Linked DNA regions of Homo sapiens: regions 2, 3, 4, 5 and 6 are each linked to region 1. Evidence: promoter capture Hi-C in human tissues and cell types (Jung and others, 2019). All regions are on one chromosome and are shown on one strand. The core of a region is centred on a gene start or on the middle of the fragment in contact, and the rest is flanking DNA. Distances in the headings are between cores, read along the strand shown. Region 1 holds the start of C12orf56 (chromosome 12 open reading frame 56). Region 2 overlaps SRGAP1 (SLIT-ROBO Rho GTPase activating protein 1). Region 3 overlaps SRGAP1 (SLIT-ROBO Rho GTPase activating protein 1). Region 4 overlaps SRGAP1 (SLIT-ROBO Rho GTPase activating protein 1). Region 5 overlaps SRGAP1 (SLIT-ROBO Rho GTPase activating protein 1). Region 6 overlaps SRGAP1 (SLIT-ROBO Rho GTPase activating protein 1).

Region 1 (3,686 bases), core at 263-2,762:
TGCTGGTTTACAAGGTAAATCTATTCCTGGACGAAAGGGGTACAGGAACAGCACCCGAAAACCGGCGACAGGCTGTGGCAGGCCCGACGTCTTTCAAGCCCAGCTCCTAGCGTCGACGCCCCTCCTTCCAAGACGTTTCCCAGCAGGCCCTGCGCCCAGTTTGGATCAAGTGAGCCGCCTGAGATTGCCAAGCGTCCTGTGCGCATCTCATTAACGCATCTGCTTATTCATGCATTTATTCTTTTGCTGGGGAGGGGGTGGAGGGGAACGGTGTCTCACTCATTCTGTAGCTCAGGCTGGAGTGCAGGTGGGGCGATCTCGGCTCACGGCAACCTCCGCCTCCCAGGTTCAAGCGATTCTTGTGCCTCAGCCTCCCAAGTAGTTGGGATTACAGGTGCACACGACCACGCCTGGGTAATTTTTGTACTTTTGGTGGAGACGGCGTTTCACCATGTTGGCCAGCCTGGTCTCGAACCCCTGACCCCCGGTGATCTATCCACCTTGGCCTCCCAAAGTGTAAGGATTATAGGCGTGATCCACGGCACCCGGCCTTATGCATTTATTCTTATTGAGCATCTAACATGCTCTAAGCATCGGGGGCAAAAAAGTAAATGAGATATAACAGCACTTAACACACAGCATTTATTTGCACGGGTGTTGGCTTTCTAGCCCTCCAGCGACTGCTTCTAGGTAGGGGCCCTCTTTCGTTTTTGCATCCTCCGAGTCTAGCACAGTGCCTGGCACTGACTAGGTGCTTTGTTAACAAAGGAATGACTTTAAAAGGTATTTTTGATAGGGAGCTCGGTTCTCAAACCTGTAGCCCTACGTGGGGTAGGGGAGGCGGGAGAATGGGTGAACAGGCAGACACGAGGAGAATGGGAGACGTGTTTGTATTAGGAGTGCTCACAGCAATCCACAGCTTCCCTGTGTTCCTCGTTCTCAAATAAGAGGAGGGGAGTCGAGGGCAGGATGGGGCAGCCCTCCCCGCGCAGGAGGGCTGGGTTTGGGGGCCCCAGCCGGGAGTTCTCACTGCGCTCCCGAGCCCGCCTGCCCACCCGCGCCGCTCACCAGGTCAATGGCCACGACGTCCCGCAGAGCCACTACCCGCCGGATGGACTTGGGCGGGTTCTCGGTTAGGTAGACGAGCCGGTCGCTTAGCACCACATACTTGAGGATGTGGTTCTCAGAGTTGGACACCACGATGCATGGCTCGTAGGCGCGGACCGCGTCGTAGACCTCGGGCGGCAGATGCCGCCGCAGGAACACATCCAGGCGGCTGTTCCTGCGCGCGGGGAAGCCGGACGGCAAGGGGCTGGCCATGCCCGGCGCCCGCAGCGTGGCGGAGTGCTGGGACTCGAGGCCCTCAGCTCGCCCTCTCCCCGCCCCCGCGCTGGAACCCGCGCGCCACAAAGCCGCCGGCCACGCGTCGCCTCCTCTCCAGGCGCGGGGACCCGGGCCGCAACTGCAGGAATCGACGCTAGGTCGGCTTCCCTGGAGCGCCCTCCCCAGCCCTGTCCAGCCTCTCGATCTTTGTCCTAACCTCAGACGGCGATGGGCGGGGCAAGACGCTGGTCCTTCAGGCCCGAGTTGATGGGCACCTCGGGCTCATCACCGTGAAGTCCCCTGCGGCCGAAGGGCGGTGGATTTTTAGGGTCTCTCCCGCCCACCCCTAATGCCAGTCCCCACCACTGCGTACTCTGTTGCGGATCACACCATCCAATACAAACTTTATTGGTAATGGAAGCCAGCTTCAATCTGGTTTCCTGTTAGAAACTTGAAAGAGTTTAATTTACCGATTTATTTTTAACAACCCTAGAAACCTATTAAACCCAATCACACAGATTTAGCTTTTGGTTATAACATGGCCTGGCACAGCTTTCTGATATTGTCGGAGTGTAAACATAGGTCTTCTTTCTCCAACCAGTGAGAAAGGGATTTTTTTTTTCTTTTCTCTTTTTTTTTTTGAGACGCAGCTTTGCTCTTGTTGCCCAGGCTGGAGTGCAATGGCGCCATCTCGGCTCACCGCAACCTCCCCCTCCCGGGTTCAAGCGATTCTCCTACCTCAGCCTCCTGAGTAGCTGGAATTACAGGCATGCGCCACCACGCCCAGCTAATTTTGTATATTTTAGTAAAAACGGGGTTTCTCCATGTTGGTCAAGCTGATCTCCAACTCCCGACCTCAGGTAATCCGCCCGCCTCGGCCTCCCAAAGTGCTGGGATTACAGGCGTTAAGTCACCTCGCCCAGCCTTTGAGAAAGGGATTCTTCACATGAATTGATGTGAGCACACCCAAACCAACCTAAGGCATATGGTTTTGTTTCCAATGCCCAGGACAATCTATGCAGGAAGAATGAATGGGTGATGCTGGCATCTTGAAAAGTTGAAGCTGATAGACTGAAGAATGCGGATTACATACCCTGAGGCTGCAGAGGAGTAAGTATTCCTTAGTTTTTACAGGCCAAGAATAACTTACTAATTAGGTTAGAGAAATGAGAAGGGCACAACAGAAATGCTCTAAGTCAGAAGTTCCATTTTTTATTTCGAATCCTAGAAAAGTTATTCTCTTCCCCTCCCCATTGACCCAAAAACCTGATAATGAAACCATATCGTTCATTGCTGTGGCTGCCAGCAACCCTGAATCAAATTTGATATATTCTTTATATTCTCCCTTTCTACATATTTTATTATTGTATACTGTATGTTATAAGCAACTTCAAATCCCTTGTGGAAAGAAGGTATAAATATATTACAATCCATAAACAGATATTGTAGACTACACTAGTACAAAGGGAAAGAGAAATGTTTTGGTCTGGCTAAACTTTTTTTTTTTTTTTTTTTTTGAGACAGAGTCTCCCTCTGTCACCCAGGCTGGAGTGCAGTGGCATGATATCGGCTCACTGCAGCCTCTGCCTCCTGGGTTCAAGCCATTCTCCTGCCACAGCCTCCCAAGTAGCTTGGACTACAGGTGTACACCACCATGCCTGGCTAATTTTTTTTCTGTGTGTATTTTTAGTAGAGACAGGATTTCACCATCTTGGCCATGGCTTGTCTCCTGACTTCAACTGATCTGCCTGCCTTGACCTCCCAAAGTGCTGGGAATACAGGCATGAACCACCGCCATGTAAGGGTCTGGCTAGACTTAAGTCTAAGATCATGTTAAGGAACTCAAGTGAGTAAAGAGAAGTGCCACCTGCTGGCAAAATCTTAAATGACCTAGTAGTTAAAGTTTTCTTAGGATCTCATCACACATCTGAGCCTTCCTAACTTCATAAATGGATGAAAAATGAATGAACTACACCATCCGTAGCAACCTTTATTGATAAAAGATGCCGCATGGCTATTTCCTCCAAAATAAAGACTACTCATTATCTAAACCACTCTAAATAGAGTTTGTTGCTTCAAACTAACAGAAAGGCAAAGGCGCTTCACCTCTGCTGAATAGCCACACCTCACAAAAGCAGTTGAAAGATGAATGACTACAATATCAGAGGTGGAAAGTGAGGCCCACATAAGGGAAAGGCCTTATCTTAGTCTACTATTTTGTGTCTCTCAGGCTTCCTACTTCATACCTACTTCCCAGGACTAAGAGAAACAGAATGACTGGACCAGGACCAAAAAAGACAGCATACTTGATATATCTGCCAAGAAGCCCATCTTGAATAAGCTTTTGGTGACAAGTGCACTAA
Region 2 (3,380 bases), core at 746-3,245, 390 kb before region 1:
TTGAACATTTAGTGGGAAATCAGGGAGTATCCAAGTGAATGCACAAGCTGGCCGAGACTCCATGCCTCTCAAATCCCCCACAGCCATTTCACATGGAGCGCCTTACCTTTGAGGCTGAATTGATTTCTTCATTCAACAAAAGAGTTATTTAATTCCAGACCTTCTACTAGATGTAGACAATGTAAACACAGATAGGAGAGTACTCTGCTTTTAACCTCTTAAGTTCTGCTTAGCTATTTTAAGAGAAGGTCAGAATTTGGAGGCTCCTGCTACACAAGGGCTTGTTTCATTCTCAACCCTCACTTGTTTCCCAAAGAACCAGGGCTGATGTGCCTCTTGCCCTGTTCTCCAGCTCTGCCTTCTGCAGTCATGAGCTTTTGCTTCCTTCTTTCCATTACTCATGCTGAAACAGAGTACTCTGCATCTGGTTTGGTTCTGCAGCCAGAAAATGTGCAGTTCATATGCTACGCATAAAAATGTAATTAATGTCATCTGTCACAGTTGCAGGACAGGCTATCCAGCCAGCTTGCAATAATCACTTTATTTAAGCACCTAATCACAAGGTGTTATTTACCAATTTTAAGAACGTTAATAGAAGTATGTAGTTTGGAGGTATACCATCAAATGGTGGCATTTGAATATGTTAGGTTATCTCTATGGGTTTTAAATTACCTTGAAGTCTGTCATTTCCCCAAAGATTGTTTTAAAATCATTAATATTTTTTATCCTTCCTTGGTTTACATAAATACATGTACAATATAATTCATCTTGTTTCTTCACCAATAATGATATCTATAAGCTGCCACTTACTGAGTTTTAGCTATGTGCCAAGCACTGTACTCTACATTTTCATAAATTAGCTCACATATCCTCACAGCTGCCCAGAGAACAGGTATTATATCCACACTTCAGGGATAAGGAAACAAAATGCTCAGGAGTATAAATTGCAGCATCAGGCTGACTAGCATGTATTCTTGTCTTTGCCCGTATGTCTTAGATAGTTCATAGCTCCTATGTACTCTGTTGGTATTTTTTGGTGGTAGAGATGTCACCCAATGCATAGGGTCAGAAACTTCTGAGAAATAGGACACTATGGTTCTTGTCCTAGTCATTCTTATGAAAAGACTGAAGAATGATATTCTGGGAAGAGGCACAACATTTGTCAATCATCCAAGTTATAGGGAGGGATTCAAAGCAGCAGAAACTGGCCCAAAGCCAGTGAGAATAACCCCTCTTTGGCATAAGTCCCATAGGTTGTCAGAGTCAGACTCACAGAAATTCAGTTGACTCACTTTAGGTATTGCTGATTGTGTGGCTTAATCTGAAAGAAAGGAAAGGTTACTAGTAAGATTCATACTTATTTTTTATTTTGATCAAAGACAGCCATATTCTATTTAAATACCCCAACATGAAAAAAAAAGCAAAGATATTTTATGGAGGAGAAAAGCTGTAGTTTCAAATACACCATTTAAAATAGGTTAATATTCAAACATGTTTTAGTAGAAGTTAATAAAAGATACCACTTGACTACAGATCTCTAAGGCTCTGACCTTGTTTTTTTTTTTAAAAAAAGTACCATAAGTTAAAAGCATCTGAAAACTACCAATCTCTATATGTGAAAAAAGAACCTATTTCTCTTTGAATATAAAAATAGATATAGATTGTAGAAATTTAGAAAACGCTATAAATATAAAAAGAAATAATAATTACCCATATTAACACTAACTACTTTTAAATTTTAGGCTCTATCTTTTCACTATTTATATGTGTATACATATACTTAAATATATATGTGTATATTTTACAGAATTGAGATTTCATTCTATATGGCTTGGAAAGGTGCCATTTTCATATAGAATATTATTAGCATTTCTCACATCTGGAAATAGGCTACCTCATGACTACATAGTACTTTACTATGTGCATGGCCATGTTAGTTTTCTGTTGTTAGACATTTAAATCTATGATTTTTTTTCTTATGCTACATTTTTTGAAGTAGAATTATCAAGTCAGAGGGTGGCCTTTGAATTTTGTTAGAATTTCATGTCTTGAATTAAATTCTTACTGTTTTCTTTTCTGGAGTAATGATGGTCATGGTTGTCATGTACAAACAGGTCATATATTCGCTGAAAAATTAATTGGCTTTTATTAGCAGTAAGCTAACACATATAGTTTAGTATACTTATATAACAGTAGTAAATAATATAACAAGAAGAACTTTTCCAAAGCATTTTAGTGCAGTGTTGCAGAAGAATTAAATGGTATTCTGGTGGCCTCAAGGGGCAGCTTAATTATTGATAGGGCCTGGATAAATAAGAATAGTTCAAGCTAACACTGCTAGCTGGTTCTCTTGGGTTTTATCAACCCTATGACTAACTTTTTATTTTTTAAGAAATAAGCCAAAACTAAACTATCATTTTTTGCAATGATGTAATTTTCTGAAATATTTTAGAAAATATTTTTAATTTGTATTTATAAATTGCTTATCAGGATGGCAAGCACATAATAAATGCTCTCTGAATAGCAATTATTGGTGCTGCTGTTCTTGGAGTTACATTGTTGCTTTTATTATTTAGTAACAACAGGATATGTGTGATTGGCCTGGCTTTAACTTTAATATAACAAGAGGAAGTACTGAATTCTGAAGGCAACTGTAACACAATGGTAAGTATTTGAGTATCTAAACACAGAAAAAGGTACAATACAATTACAGTATGCAAGATAAAAAAAATGATACACCTGCATAGGGCAGCTCCATTCTAATCTTATGGGACCACCGTCATTGAGTACAATAACATGCTATACAGGTTTGTAGCCTAGGAACAGTAGATTATACCATATAGAACAGGTATATAGTAGTCTATACCATCTGGATTTGTGTAAGTACACTCTATGATGTTCACACAATGATGAAATTGCCTAATGATGCATTCCTTAGAATATGTCTCTGTGGTTAAGTAATGGCCTGCCTGTACTTGAACTCATAATTACATTGAGATAAGTGGTCAAGGAATGCTTGAAAACTTATTTTTTAGCTAAAATTAAAATCTAGAAGGGTAAATTGTTTTAAATGGATATCTCTAAGTTACTTTTATTTTCTTCTGTTTGCTTATCTGTAGTTTCTGATTTTACACAATGAACAAGTTGTATAATAAAACACACAATAAAACAGTTATTTTTTGTAAACTGAAGTCTGAAGGAAAAGTTTGGTCCAGGTATACCAGTGTTTGTTTGCTGTAAAGGAGTGGGAAAACCCTATCCAGTAAATAATTCATCCCCAAATGCTGCTTATTAATGGAGAATCTGCCTATTCTCCGGGTCCAATTGAAAATTTCACTTGGATTATGCACTCTTAAGATGGTTAAAATAGGAAGACATGA
Region 3 (3,690 bases), core at 123-2,622, 490 kb before region 1:
ATCTCTATATTATATATGTTTGTAAGTTTAAATAGAAGCTATGAAGTGACTCCTTATATAATAAATGTAAGGTATCTTTGCTCCAGTGTATCTGCCTTTAGAAATAACTCACTAATAAATATGAGGCACTGAACTCGATGCAGAAGGCATGTTACTGTCAAAAAACTTTCTAGAAGCTTGATAGAGCTCTTAACAGGGTTTATTTTGGGGGAGAGCATGTAATAAATTGTAGTCTTAAACTGTTACAGATTTCCTGATACCTCCAATGGACTATTCTACCTTTAATTTGGTAAATAAATGATGTTGATGACAACAGCTTTGCAGTTATGAACTAAGCAATGCCTTATGTCTCCGTTTGCCCTTGCTTTTTTCTTTTTCTTTTTCTTTTTCTTTTTTTTTTTTTTTTTTTGAGGTGGAGCCTCGCTCTTTCACCCAGGCTGGAGTGCAGTGGCACGATCTCGGCTCACTGCAGCCTCTGCCTCCCGGGTTCAAGCGATTCTCCTGCCTCAGCCTCCTGAGTAGCTGGGACTACAGGTGCGTGCCATCACGCCCAGCTAATTTTTTGTATTTTTGGTACAGACAGAGTTTCACTGTGTTAGCCAGATAGTATCAATCTCCTGTCCTTGTGGTCCACCCGCCTCAGCCTCCCAAAGTGCTGGGATTACAGGCGTGAGCCACCTGTGCCCGGCCATGCTTTTTTCTCTAATTAAAAATAGGGCTGGGTTTGGTGGCTCACACCTGTAATCGCAGCACTTTGGGAGGATGAGGCGGGAGGATCAGATGAGGCCAGGAGTTCGAGACCAGCCTGGGCAACATGGCAAAATGCTGTCTCTACTAAAAACACAAAAAATTAGCCAGGTGTGGTGGCATGCACCTGTAGTCCCAGCTACTTGGGAGTCTGAGGCATAGAATAGCTTGAACCTGCAGGCAGAGGCTTGCAGTGAGCTGAGATCACGCCACTGCATTCCAGCCTGGGTGACAGAGCGAGACTCTTATCTCAAAAAATAAATAACAAAGAAATTATTGTTTAGGGTTTTGTACTATCAAACCTAAGTAAAAAAACAATGTATGCTAAAGAAAAGGTTTATGTATAACAGGAGTGAGCAGTAGAGGTGATAAAACACATCTCTTTGAGAATGTTTATAGATTATGACCTCTCAACCACACTTGTGCACCTATTTTTTTTTTTTTTAAATGAGAGACAGTTCTGACCTGCTGGTTTGGGTTGCTGCTATGTGGCTGTTCAGTCATTTATTTGCCAGGCATTTTGGAAACACTTATTTACTATGTGCCAGTTACTGTCCCAGGTGCTAAGAATTCAAAGGTTAATAGAATTAAGGTCCTTGCCCTGGAGAAACCTCATAGTTGCTCTTCAAAAGCAGTATTCCTAATATGGTTTGTTCTTGCTTCTCCATACTAAGAGGTGAGGAACCCCAGGGCAAATAATTTCAACACTGGATAAATCTGTAAAGAAAAAATGAGCCATTCCCAGTCCTGCACCATGTTTATGCAAGTTTATTTTCCCCAGTTCTCCAAAATGTAAAGTCTCCCTGTTGAGTTGTATTGTCTGGTCTGATTTTGGTACATGCTGAGCTCACCCCTGTCTTTCTGCCTTTATTATAGCTTGTTCCTCCTTCCCCTGTAATCTGAATTCTACTTGTGCTTTAAAGCTGAGCAAAATGTTACTTTGTCCACACACAGTGCCATTTCTTTCTGGTTGTTCCTGCTCAGCCTGAGCGCTCCATAATCTTGGCCTATCCATCATTGACGTCACAACAGGTTAGCCCTTAATCACATATTGTTTTGCACATCTTGTTTGTTTTTAGTCATACCTCCCCAACTGGATTGTCTGAGCTTTAATGGGACAAACTGCTACTAACCACAGTTTGGCCTCCCAACTTTTTGAGGAAGAAAGCTAGACTCTAGCATTTGATGGGTGGCATTTACAAATTAATGAGATTTTAAAATTAACTGGATTATCATCAAGTTTCTACCCACATGAGTAATAATCAAGCTTGAACTCTAAATTAGAATTGTTTAAGCCCTGTAGGTTGTCGAGTTTAATTTAACATCATCTTTATGCAATAAGTCACCTAACATTGTTCTTCATGAAAATTTAAACCAGGGATTGGCAGCTCACTGGACTTGGCTTGCAAGCTTGCCTTGTTTGGACTTTATAGTACTTGCAAAATCAAGACATGTTTTACAGAAATTTGGCTGGGGAGTGTGGTGGCTCACGCCTGTAATCCCAGTACTTTGGGAGGCTGAGGTGGGCGGATCGCTCGAGCTCAGGAGTTCGAAACCAGCCTGGGCAACATGGTGAAACCCCATCGCTATTAAAAAATTTATTTAAAAACATTTTACAAAAGTTGAGATCTCTAGTTTGTCTGAAATAACCTTCCCCATTCCAATGAACTGTAGGGAAAACAGCTAATTTTCAAAGAGCCATGAAAAAGGCAAGTAACAACAAGATTTATTGAATGTTTACTATGTTCTAGACACTATTCCAAGAACAGTATTAACCCTCACAGTATTTCTAGTAGGTAGATACTATTATTAAACTTATTTTATAGATGAGGAAGCTGAAGCTCAAAGAGATTAATCAACTTAATCTCCAGGGTGTTTCAGGGTCACAATTTGTAATTTGTGGAATGGAGATCCAACCTAAGCAGAAAGCAGACTAACCACAGTTACCCATAATCATGCTTTTACTGCCTATTCAGAGAGACTGGAGGCATCTGTTCAAAAGTCTTCCCTAAAATGATGGACTAGATTTGGTTATAAAGTAACTAAATCCATTTTAATATGTGCAAGTGGAACAGTTGCTTATTTTTCTATTTCCTCAGTTTGCAGTTAACTTAATTCTAAACTTTGAAACAAAATGACAGCTGCATGAAGAGACCTGCACAATCCAATTGCTTAAAATTAGTTTGCTTGCTTATTATTATTTTGATTAAAGACTTACTATTTTTGTCACATTTGCTCATTTCCTAGGGTTATAGCAACCTCAGTCTTCCTAAACTGAACTGATCTTTGTTTTCTCTGGATTCTGTCTGTACTTTTCATTTGGTCATTCCATCATATCTTTTGTTTTAGTCTTGACCTCCCAATTAGATTGTAAACAGTTTAAGAATAGCACAATTCTTTATTTCTCATCTATGTATAATGTAACAGAACATTTAGAACAATTTTTACAAAGTTGGTTTTTACAGGTACTGTATGTCTGAAATGATACTAGGATTAAACTATTATATATATATATATAAAGTGTGTGTGTATGTGTGTTTGTGTGAACTATTATTTGGGAAAATTTTAAGCACGCTTTCAAGTAGAGAGACTAGTACAATGAATCCACATGCACTCATACTCAGCTTCAACTAATGTGTTTTTTGTTGTTGTGTCTTGTTTTGTTTTGTTGAAATGGAGTATCACTCTGTCACCAGGCTGGTGTGCAGTGGCATGATCTCTGCTCACTGCAACCTCCAGCTCCTGGGTTCAGGTGATCCTTCTGCCTCAGCCTCCTAAGTAGCTGGGATTGGCGTGCGCTAATTTACAATTTGCAAATTGTAAATTTGTATTGTATTACAAATACAATACGTTTTTGTATTTTTAGTAGAGACAGGGTTTCATCATGTTGGCCAGGCTGTACTTGAACTCCTGACTTCAAGTGATCTGCCTGACTCAGCCTCC
Region 4 (3,607 bases), core at 394-2,893, 470 kb before region 1:
AGAGGGGCTGGAGGGAAATGACGGGGAACATTTGAATCAGGAAGAAATTCCAGAGGAAGTTGTGACTATGCTGAAAGCTGAGAAGGGGCATAAGGTGCCTAGGATGATATAAAAGTCATGAGATTTAAGAAAGGTCTGGGAATCGCATGCAGGCCAGTAGACTTAATGAGAAGTAGTTAGGGTGTGAAATGTGACAAAAATTAAGTACTCTTCTGCTCCACCCTCTATCCATTTATTTCTCCTTGATTAATTTTGGGGAAGTTGTGGTTTGGATCTGAGAGGAGAGTGTGCCATTTGATCAAAACCACGAGGCCAGATCATTTTCCAGTACCACCAAGGATCATTTGGCATGGGCTGCTGATTTCTGCTGTGGTCTCACCTTGCTCAGCAAGGTCAGATTGCATATAGATTTCATGTGTTCACTTTAAGGAATCTCACTTGTGAGATTTAGTCATATTGCAAGCTTTATATCTACCCCATGGGATATAACATATGGGATATGCTATTTAATGGCAGTTATGCAGATTAAATGAGCAAATATATGTACAACACTAATAATAAATACTGCCTGATACATAGTAAACACCGTATAAAGCGTTATTATTGTTATGATGAGTAATTATTATTCATCTGGGATTCTCCTGAGTCGTCGGAACCCCTGGGCTGTCCTTTGGACCTGGAGCCTGAGCAGAACTGGAAAAGACTCCCAGAAAGACCTAGGGCTCTCTAAGACAGTATGGTCCATTAGAGGTATGGATGCCTGGGTCTTGGCTAGAGTCCAGGGTGGAAAATATAGGTCAGTTCACTGAAAAGTTCATTTTTATTGTGAGTGTGTTGGGAGCAATGTGAGTCAACAGCACTGCGCAGTTGCTCCTTTTGAATTTGCTACCATAATTTTTGGAAGGGACTGCATGGGCTTCACAGCAGCGAAGGCCCTGGGTTTTACTACTATAAAATAAGTCATCATCTAGGATGTGAAAGAGCTTGCTTTCTGTTTTGTTTTAAAAGGATATATTATAGCTGATAGTGCAAATCTACTCTTAAGAATTTCTAATTACTATTTGAATATGGTCTCTATTTCAGAACCTGCTTAGGCCCAAATTTGAAAACAGTTTATAATGAACCTGCTTTCTGTAATTCTTGTACACACCAATTTCCCACCCTGCTTTCTGTAATTCTTGTACACACCAATTTCCCACGCTAGCTGTGAGAAGTTCATGGGATGATGTGTCTGTGTTGTTTATCCTACAGAAAACCGTGAATAAATGGCTGTTATTTTTGCTATTCTCGTCTTGCTGATTTCCTATGCTAGTGGCTAGCACAAATGCAAGATTATATTGTGCCATACTCACTGGAAGTTTGGTGGCTACAAGATTTCCCTAGCACATGGCCTTAGTCTGAGCAAACTGTAGCAACAACTATAGGATGCCCAATTGGTTCACATTTTAAAATTGGGTGTGGACAAAATCAGTCATAGTAAAACTGCGTAAAGAATGCAGATTGCTCAAAGCTATGTCCTTGAGCAATAAAAAGCCGCTTTTTATGAGGAAATTACACTGTCGTTGTGCAAGAATAATATTGTGCTGGACAAAGTGCTAAATTCTTTTTTTAATCATCACAACCCCTCCTCCCCCCATTACCCTGTTTTAGAGATGAGAAAACGGAAACCCAGTGAAGTTAAGCAACTCATTCAAGGTCACCCAGCTAAGAAGACTAATGAGAGCCTTGATTTGAACCTGGAAGTGTCTGACTTCAGGGTTCATGAACTAAGCCTTTTATGCTCTATTGCTTTCTCTCTTTTTTTAAGACAAGCCTCACTCTGTCACCCAGGTTGGAGTGCAGTAGTGCAGTCATGGTTCACTGCAGCCTCTGCCTCCCAGGCTCAAGTGACCCTCCCACATCAGTCTCCTGAGTAGCTGGAACTACAGTCATGTGCCACCATGCCCAGTTAATTTGTGTATTTTTTGTAGAGATGAAGTTTTACCATGTTGCCCCAGCTGGTCTCGAATCCCTGGGCTCAAGCAATCTGCCTACCTCGGTCTCCTAAAGTGCTGGGATTACAGGCGTGAGCCGTTGCACCAGCCAGTGCTCTATTGCTTTGTTTGCACTATCTAGGCCATTTGTTCATCCATTTATTCATTTATTCCATAAATATTTATTGTATATGCCGAGTACTCTTCTAGGCCTGGAAATACTGTGGTGAACAAGAATGTCAAAGACTCCACAGTTAGGGAGTTTGCATTCTAATGGGAGAGACTTAAAATAAACAAGGAAATGAGTGCATGAGTGTGAGTCAGTGTGTATGTATATATTCTTTGGGGAGTGACGTGTGCTATAAAGACAAATGAAGTTCAGAGAAGAGGTATGTTAGTTATTTCGTATTTTGGTTTTTTTGGGGAGGGGTGTTTTTTGTGTTTTTGTTTGTTTAGTTGGTTTTTAGAGACAGGATCTTGCTCTGTGGTGCAGGCTGGAGTGCAGTGGTGTAATCTCAGCTCACTGCAACCTCCGCCTCACGGATTGGAGTGATTCTCCCACCTCAGTCTCCTGGGACTGGAAGCTGGGACTACAGGCACACACCACTATGCCTGGCTACTTTCTGTATTTTTTGTAGAGACAGGGTTTCGCCATGTTGCCCAGGCTGATCTGGAACTCCTGGGCTCAAGTGATCCACCTGCCTTGGCCTCCCAAGGTGCTGTGATTACAGGTGTGAGCCACCATGCCTAGCCAATATTTTAATCGTTTTAACTTAACATTTAATATATATTTGTATATTAATGATCCACCTGCCTTGGCCTACCAAAGTGCTGGGATTACAGGTGTAAGCCACTGTGCCTGGCCAATATTTTAATTGTTTTAACTTAACATTACATATATATATATATATATATATACACATACACACACACACAACTATGTTTGAAAATTATAAAGGATAACAGTGTCATATGTATGACTTACCACCTAATCTACAAACAAAAGCCCTGCCAATTCTGTCGCACTTATCTGTGCTCTGCCCCATCCCATATACCTGCCTATCTTTTGAAGCAACTACTTCCTAATTTTTTTCTTTCTCTTGCCTTTTTTTAAAAAATGTTATTTATCCCTTAAAAATATGCTCATAAGTACTATACAGCTAATTTTGCTTGTTTGTTTTGATTTGTAAAAATAGTATAACTGTTTGACATTGTTGCATGTAGCTGTAGTTCATTCATTTTAAAAGCTGAATTATGTGTTGTTGGGTGAGTATGCAGAATCAATTGATTCATTGCCCTGTTGGTGGATATTTGGATTGTTTCCAGCTTTCTGCTATTTGAACAATGTTGCTGAACATTTTCATGTGTTCCTATTAACACACATATACAGGAGTTTCTCCATGGCCTATTGCTGGGAGTGGAATTGCATGGTTATTGGGTATGTCAGTGTTCAAGTTCACATGATACGACTGCATTGTTTTCCGAAGGAGCATCACCAGTTTACATTCCCACTCATAAGTGATTAAGAGCTCCAGCAGACCCACTTTTTATCAGCACGTGGTATTATAAAACATCTTAATTTTTGCCAGTCTGGTGGGTATAACATTGCATTGTGGTCTTCATTGACATTTCCT
Region 5 (3,575 bases), core at 919-3,418, 290 kb before region 1:
TATATATGATGTTTTAACCCAGGCATACAGTGTGTAATGATCAAATCAGGGTAACTGGGATATCCATCACCTGAAGCACATATCATTTCCTTATGTTAGAAACATTCCAATTAGCACATTATAATTAGCAAAGCTGCACACTTTCGTGTCAGGCAGACCTAGAATCATATCAGACTCTCAGCCACTAATCAATCATGTGATACGGGTCAAGTCGCTCAATTCCTATTTGGCCTCGATTTCCTCACCTGCAAAACTGTAAAAATTGATGGTTAGAGCAGAGCAGCCACATGTGCCAAGTCTCATGCATTGGCCATCTTCAGGGTAAGCTGAAATATGGTAAAGTATCAGGTTCTGTGCTAGCCACCACAGGCAAAATACATGATCATTTTTCCTTGGAAATTTTCCCAGTATTTGTTATTTGTTTGTGATCTGCTTGGGTGAGGCTTTCTCACAGTGGGCAAAAATAATAGTAATTATTATATTCTGATAAATTCATGTTCAGTGATTTCTTGCCCTAGGAACAGAGAAAAGAGAACAACAGATCCCTAAAAATAAATTGCCCTAAGAAGCAAAAAAATACGTTAAAATGCAATGCACACTTTTTGTGAACTTTAGAAGAGAAGCATAAAACTGTAAATAAAAAACAGAATTTGATTTAAGGTTGTATTTTATGTTGAACTTCTTAAGGATTTTATCTCTAGAGGAACAATAACCAGACTTGTTGCCTAATAATTTAATTTAGTTCTCAGAAAGAAACGCTCACCAGACTAGTTGCCTAATATTTTAAAGTTGTTTACCATAAAAAAAATAATTTTATATTTGTGATATATTTTTTAAATTCCCACTTTTTATACAAACTCCTTGGTAACATGAAAGGTACATTTTCAAGTTCCTCTATCTGATTTTAGAGTCTGCCTCTGCTCAAGACAGCCTTCAGATGTGCTGTGAACACCACCATGCCACTTTGGGAAATACCTACTTATTTAATTGTAGGTGTTCACAATTCAGTGGCACCTATGACATTTCTGATAAATTTTGCTGACCCATATAGCATAGTCAGACAGACCTATGGTGTGTCTTTTTCCCAGTAGGGTAAGAAACACAGGATGTAGTGTTTGAATTCATGTCAAACTAAGATTACAGATTTCAGCTTAAAAAAAGTGGGGGTTGGGTAAAATTATAAATTCCACAATATTTTATTTTAAGATTTGAGTAACTTGTAAGGGATTATTTAGTAGCATAAGATTTTAAAAGCTTTATTTTAGTCAACTGTTTTTAGGTTAATCATGGGGTGGGATATCTAAACCAATTATTTTAATTTTAGTACCATATAATCTTTCATAAAGCATAATTAAAAGATACATGTATATATAGCAACGTGTATGTTCATAGAAATATATTTTTGTTCAGAGAAAAAGAAGCACTGTTAATGTAATGAGTTTTTTTTTTTTTTTTAGGTGAAAATCCTTTGGCTGATGACCAGAGTAACCATGATATTAACTCAGTTGCTGGCGTTCTGAAGCTCTATTTCCGTGGGCTGGAAAACCCCCTCTTTCCTAAGGAAAGATTTAACGATCTGATTTCTTGTATCAGTAAGTGGACATTTTTTTCATCTTTTCCCACAAGAATTATTTCACTAGCTAACTTCCTGGAAAAGGCAGTGGCCCCCCTCCATACACCCCCACCCCCATTACCCCATTACCACCATATTTCTGGGACCATTTGTTTTCTTTCTGGATCCAGTGCGAGTCATCCTCCCAGCTGTGGCCTCACCCTCGGCTGAGTGGGCTTTCCTCCTGAACATCCTCTGGCTCCAGAAAGCCAGGAGCTTCCCACTCATGGCTGGAATTGAGCAGAAAGCCAGGTGCCAGCTGCCTAAGGGAAAGGAGGAAGTTGTAAGCTGGGAAATGTGACCTTTTCTTGGCTTTTGATTCTTGGTTTTTCTCAACCAATTTTAGGAGTGGGGTAATTTATCCATCTTTCAATGTTATTTCAAGAAATGGATAAAATGAAATCAAAGATCCTTATTACAGTGCAGGAACACCAGGTGGTAATTATCTGTCAGTGGGCAACCCAAGCTAATAGGCAGAGTTGCTCTGGGATTGTGTATGACATATTATGAAACCGATAATCATTGGCAAAGTAAAGCATTGCTGTTTACTTCAGTGGGGGCTTTTTGACACTATACAAAGGAAGGTGAAAATAATGATACCATGAATTAATTATTAGCCACAATCAAGATCCATGCATCTAAAAATACAGTGTCCCTTTTAAGTCCGAGTTCCCAGCAAGAGTCTAGAGCTGACTTCAATCACTTAGGCTTCATAAGAATCAACTTTTTACTCTTAATAAAGAAATCTCCGTACAGTCCCTCCACCCCCCATCTGAATCAACAAGTCCTATTGATCTGCCCTCAAAAAAAACATCTCACTACTCATCCCTCCTTCCCCATCCCCATCACCTTGGTTTCTCACTGGGGATAGTTAGAGTGTCTTAAATGGACTCTACTTCTAGATTTTGCCTTCTTTTCCCAACCCCTACCCCCTGGCCCTGCATTCTCACACTGCAGCTAGAGTTAAAAAAAAAAAAAAAACTGGGTTGCTTGCTTTCTCCCCTTTTTAAAACCTATTTCAATATAAAAGCAAACTCCCCAAGGTGGGCTTATTGCTTGGTCTCCATTAGTTTGAGACCAGCCTGGGCAACATGGCAAAACCCCATCTCTACTAAAAATAAAAAATTAGCCAGGCATGGTGGCATGCACCTGGATTCCCAGCTTCTTGGGAGGCTGAAGCAGGAGGATCACTTGAGTCTGGCAGGCAGAGATTGCAGTGAGCCAAGATCGTGCCACTGCACTCCAGCCTCGGTGACAGAGCAAGACTCTGTCTCAAAAAAAAATAAAAAAATAAAAAAGCTAACTCCATGGCATGGCCAATTCATATAATTGAATTATTCCTCTCTCTGATCTCTGCTACTGCTGCACAGCCCTCTCCTGCTACCCTACCATATTTACTGTATATTTCAGCAGTAGCAGACTGTACATATGCTGGGCCATTTCCCACCTCCATCCACTTGCCTATGCTGTTTCCTCAGCTGTCCATGATAACCATTCAACATCTGCTGTGAAGGCTTTGCCAAATTGGCATTCCTCCCACAACTCTGTCCTCCCCACCACTCCAACCAGGATTAATCACTTTCTCCTCTCCCATTATTCTATTGGGTACGTATGTCCAGAATTTTTCTGATCTCCCCGCATTATAATTTTTTTAACCCCTCTGTCTCCTACTACTAGAAAATGAGTTTAGGCAGTAGGTTAAGAATAGAGGCTCTGGATTCAAAGAGCCTACTTCAGATCCTAGCTCTGTCACATACTCATCAGCTGTGTGACCTTAGTCAGGTTTCTTAAGCTCTCTGCATCTCAGTTTCCTCACCTATAAAATAGGGGGAACATTAATCCTTACATCATAGGGTTGTGAGAATTTAGTGAGTTAATATGTGTAAAATGCCAAGAAGAGTGCCTGGCACAGAATATGCTCAATGGAGTGCCCACAGTTAGCTCCACAGGCTTGTGGAGTAGT
Region 6 (3,849 bases), core at 748-3,247, 310 kb before region 1:
TGCACTCCTACTTCTCATATAAAGCTACTTGTTTTAGCCCAAGAAGGCCAGGGTCTCTCTTTTCCCACTTTTTCCTCTGCCTGGAATGCCCTTTTTTTCAGTGAACACCTACTCACCTTTTAATACATACTCAAAATTTATCTTTTGAATGGCACCTTCCCTGACTTCTCAGACAACACAGTATACTGAGTTTTGCCTGTTTTCTTACATGTTTGTCAATTTCAAGAGTTTAATTGAATAAAGAAATAACAGCATTTACTTTGTAGTATTTTAATTACTAAATATTGGCACAAGTAAAGGCTTCCATTTTTTAAAAGTATTATAAATATAAAATTTATGGAGATGTAGATAACATAGTCAAATATTTACCTTCAGTATTCAGCTATTAATTTAGTTATGCACAAATATTTTAAATCACATTATATAAAACTTTTAATTTAGAAATACTATATTTTTCTCATTTTCACAATTTTATGAAGGCTCTTCATATATCCTGATATTGTGTTTGTCATTACCAGAGCCACATTTTGAGTCTGCCGAGACCACCTCGGTCGGGGAGACCCTAACCCAGCGGCGCTAGAGAAATTAAAGACACACGCACAGAAATATAGAGGTGTGAAGTAGGAAATCAGGGGTCTCACAGCCTTCAGAGCTGAGAGCCCCAAACAGAGATTTACCCACATATTTATTAACAGCAAGCCAGTCATTAGCATTGTTTCTATAGATATTCGATTAACTAAAAGTATCCCTTATGGGAAACGAAGGGATGGGCCGAATTAAAGGAATAGGTTGGGCTAGTTAACTGCAGCAGGAGCATGTCCTTAAGGCACAGATCGCTCATGCTATTGTTTGTGGCTTAAGAATGCCTTTAAGCAGTTTTCCGACTTGGGCGGGCCAGGTGTTCCTTGCCCTCTTGCGGTAAACCCACAACCTTCCAGTGTGGGTGTTATGGCCATCATGAACATGTCACAGTGCTGCAGGGATTTTGTTTATGGCCAGTTTTGGGGCCAGTTTATGGCCAGATTTTGGGGGGCTTGTTCCCAACAGAGTCATCAAGTACACTTTTCTCAGAGTATACCATCTTCACATCTGTTTGTTTGAAATACAGTGCTTTTAAAACCTGTGCGTGATACTGTCATTAGAAATTTGTCTACAAGCTACAAGAGCCTATTTGACTAGTGTAGGATGGTGACTCTTTTAATTCAGTCTATAGATATTTGATTATGACCTCCTTAAAGTAATTAATTACAGTATTTTTAATGGTCATTAATATGCTTTTTTTCCAACAGTATCTACTCTTTGCATTGTGCATAACCCCAGGAATGATTATTGTCTATTAAATTTCTTTCCCTTCTTTTTTTAATATTAATTCCATCACATGACCTTCTAAGCATCCAAACTAGTACTAATTGCTACTGTTTCTTTCCCAAACATTATTTTGTTCAAAAAAAAAAAAAAGTAATTGAAAAGATTTCCACTTCCTGTAATGATGGACTGGGTCACTCAACTGATTCTTTCAAAGTTCATTTTCTAGGACAAGATGCATGGCCAAGCCTGAAACCTGTGACACAGGGAACCATATCTTCCCAAAAGGAAGAGCATCCAATATTTTGAACAGTAATAAAATCCAGAGATTCTGAGCTATTAGTGCCCCTAATGGTTTGGGAAAATAAACATTCTCTTTGGAGGATAACCTCACCTTTGACCTCAAGTAACTCTACAAAAAATATCTAGCAAAGATAATTAGACAATGAGGAGATAAGAAACCATGAGTGATAGCCAGAAGAAATAATAGACAATAGAGACACACCCACAGGAACTCCAGATATTGGGATTATCAGAAATAAATGACAAAAGAACTATTTACAATGTTCAAGGAGGTTTTTAAAAGCCAAGCTTAGATTTCATCAGGAAATCATAAGCACTAAAATAACAGATTTGAAAATGAGCTACATAGGAATTCTAGCACTGAGAAATAACCAAAATTAAGAAAGCAGTGGGTGAGTTTAACATCAGGTAGAGCTAAAAAATAAATCATGAAAGCAGACAAATCAGAAGAAATAATAAAAACGCAGCATCAAAAACAAAAGATAATAAAATATGGAAAAGAAGAATAAGAGATATAGAGAACACAGTAATGTCTAATATACTAATTGAACTCCCAGAAAGAAAAAAAAATTTTTTTTTTTGAGACAGAGTCTCACTTTTTCGCCCAGGCTGGAGTGCAGTGGCACGATCTCAGCTCACTGCACCCTCTGCCTCCTGGGTTCAGGCAATTCTTCTGACTCAGCTTCCCGAGTAGCTGGATTACAGGCACATACCACCACGCCCAGCTATTTTGTATTTTTAGTAGAGACAGGGTTTCACCATATTGGCCAGGCTGGTCTCGAACTCCTGACCTCAAGCGATCCACCGCCTCAGCCTCCCAAAGTGCTGGGATTACAGGTGTGAGTCACCACGCCCCGCTCAGAAAGAAAAATTAAAGAATATAGAGTCAATATTTGAAAAGATAAAAGCTGCAAACTTACTAAAACCTATGAAAAACATCACACAAATTCAAGCAGTCCAAGAAATTCCAGGCAGAATATATTTTTTAAATCCTTACCTAGATATATTACAGTGAAATTGTAGAAACCCAAAGATGAATGGAAAATTTTTAAAGCAGCTGGAAAAAGAAAGCAGATTTTATTCAAAGCAATGACAGACTGATGGTAACCTTCTCACTCAACAGGAACATAGAAGCCACAACAAAGTACAGTGATATATTTCTAATATACAAAAAGAAAATAACTGCTGCACAGAAAAAGATATTTAGTAAATGAAGGTGAAATAAAAGACGTTGTCAAGTCAACAAAACAGACACATACTAAAAAGAACTTCTAAAGGGTACACTTAAAATATAAGCACTCGACATCAAAGAATGTAATAAATACATGGGTGATGCTAAGTGAATCTTGACTACATAAAATAATAATGTCTTAAATTTATATATTAATATTTATATATATTCTATTATAATATATTACAAAAATAGCATATAAATCAGGAGGAGTAAATGAAGTTAAGGTGTTCTAAACTCTTTACATTGTGTGACAGAAGGAAAAAGCTATCAATTTACATTATACTTTGATAAGCAAAGGTAGAATATGACCTTCAGTGAATAAAAAGACTACTAGGAGATTAATAAATAAATAAGCTCCTAACAGATAACATAAAGCAGTATCTTTATGGCTATGAGATAGGAAAATATTTCTTAAATAGGACACAAAAAACACTAAAAGGAAAGAATTGATAAATGCATTATATTAAAATTAGAATCTTTGTTCATCTGGACACTATTGAAAGAGGGAAAAACCACAGCACAGTGGGGAAAAATATTTGCAACACATACAACTACAAAAAGACTCATATCCATCTCAACAAATCATTAAGAAAAAGACTCATAACTTAGAAAATGGAGCAAGAGATTTTAACAAAGTGTTCTCAATTAAGGAGATCCAAATTGCCTTAAACATATGATAATGTGCTCAATCTCATATATCAGGGAAATGCATATTCAAACCACAGTGAGATACCACTGCACACCCAACACAATTGTTTAAATTTAAAAGAAAGACTGACAATACCAACTGTTGATGAGGATGTGGAATAGCAGGGATTCTTCCACTCTGCTGGTGAGAATGTAAATTACAATCATTTTGGAAAACAGTTAAGCAGCAATTCTATTCATATATGTGTGACTAAACAAAAATGTGTTTATAGCAGCATTATTCAAAATAGCCCACAACTAAAAAAAATCATCTATCAATAGTAAAATGGATGAATTACAGTGTATTCCTACAATGAATA

The links. Contacts are between HindIII fragments. The study calls those that stand out against the background at their distance.
Region 2: a fragment that was not itself captured here is called in contact with the fragment with the promoter of C12orf56 in region 1 in 1 of the 25 tissues and cell types used here (dorsolateral prefrontal cortex).
Region 3: a fragment that was not itself captured here is called in contact with the fragment with the promoter of C12orf56 in region 1 in 1 of the 25 tissues and cell types used here (H1 embryonic stem cells).
Region 4: a fragment that was not itself captured here is called in contact with the fragment with the promoter of C12orf56 in region 1 in 1 of the 25 tissues and cell types used here (pancreas).
Region 5: a fragment that was not itself captured here is called in contact with the fragment with the promoter of C12orf56 in region 1 in 1 of the 25 tissues and cell types used here (mesendoderm cells).
Region 6: a fragment that was not itself captured here is called in contact with the fragment with the promoter of C12orf56 in region 1 in 1 of the 25 tissues and cell types used here (IMR-90 fibroblasts).

Annotation. Positions count from the first base shown.
Region 1 is chr12:64,389,246-64,392,931 of GRCh38, forward strand. It overlaps C12orf56 (chromosome 12 open reading frame 56), which reads right to left and starts at 1,513. Exons shown (of 13, transcript NM_001170633.2): 1 at 1,069-1,513. The coding sequence starts at 1,320. The HindIII fragment of the contact is 10,638 bases long and covers 1-3,686 here.
Region 2 is chr12:63,994,465-63,997,844 of GRCh38, forward strand. All of the region lies in intron 3 of SRGAP1 (SLIT-ROBO Rho GTPase activating protein 1), which reads left to right. It overlaps LOC105369801 (a long non-coding RNA gene), which reads right to left. Exons shown (of 5, transcript XR_945023.3): 4 at 2,066-2,126; 5 at 1,241-1,321. Among named protein-coding and RNA genes, the nearest start is that of SRGAP1, 150 kb to the left of the region's middle. The HindIII fragment of the contact is 6,628 bases long and covers 1-3,380 here.
Region 3 is chr12:63,899,815-63,903,504 of GRCh38, forward strand. The region is part of intron 1 of SRGAP1 (SLIT-ROBO Rho GTPase activating protein 1); the gene reads left to right. Among named protein-coding and RNA genes, the nearest start is that of SRGAP1, 57 kb to the left of the region's middle. The HindIII fragment of the contact is 4,157 bases long and covers 1-3,451 here.
Region 4 is chr12:63,916,632-63,920,238 of GRCh38, forward strand. All of the region lies in intron 1 of SRGAP1 (SLIT-ROBO Rho GTPase activating protein 1), which reads left to right. Among named protein-coding and RNA genes, the nearest start is that of SRGAP1, 74 kb to the left of the region's middle. RefSeq lists an enhancer at 2,227-3,015. The HindIII fragment of the contact is 5,861 bases long and covers 1-3,607 here.
Region 5 is chr12:64,095,784-64,099,358 of GRCh38, forward strand. It overlaps SRGAP1 (SLIT-ROBO Rho GTPase activating protein 1), which reads left to right. Exons shown (of 22, transcript NM_020762.4): 15 at 1,458-1,592. Among named protein-coding and RNA genes, the nearest start is that of KICS2, 120 kb to the right of the region's middle. The HindIII fragment of the contact is 4,186 bases long and covers 76-3,575 here.
Region 6 is chr12:64,074,476-64,078,324 of GRCh38, forward strand. The region is part of intron 8 of SRGAP1 (SLIT-ROBO Rho GTPase activating protein 1); the gene reads left to right. Among named protein-coding and RNA genes, the nearest start is that of KICS2, 150 kb to the right of the region's middle. The HindIII fragment of the contact is 7,857 bases long and covers 1-3,849 here.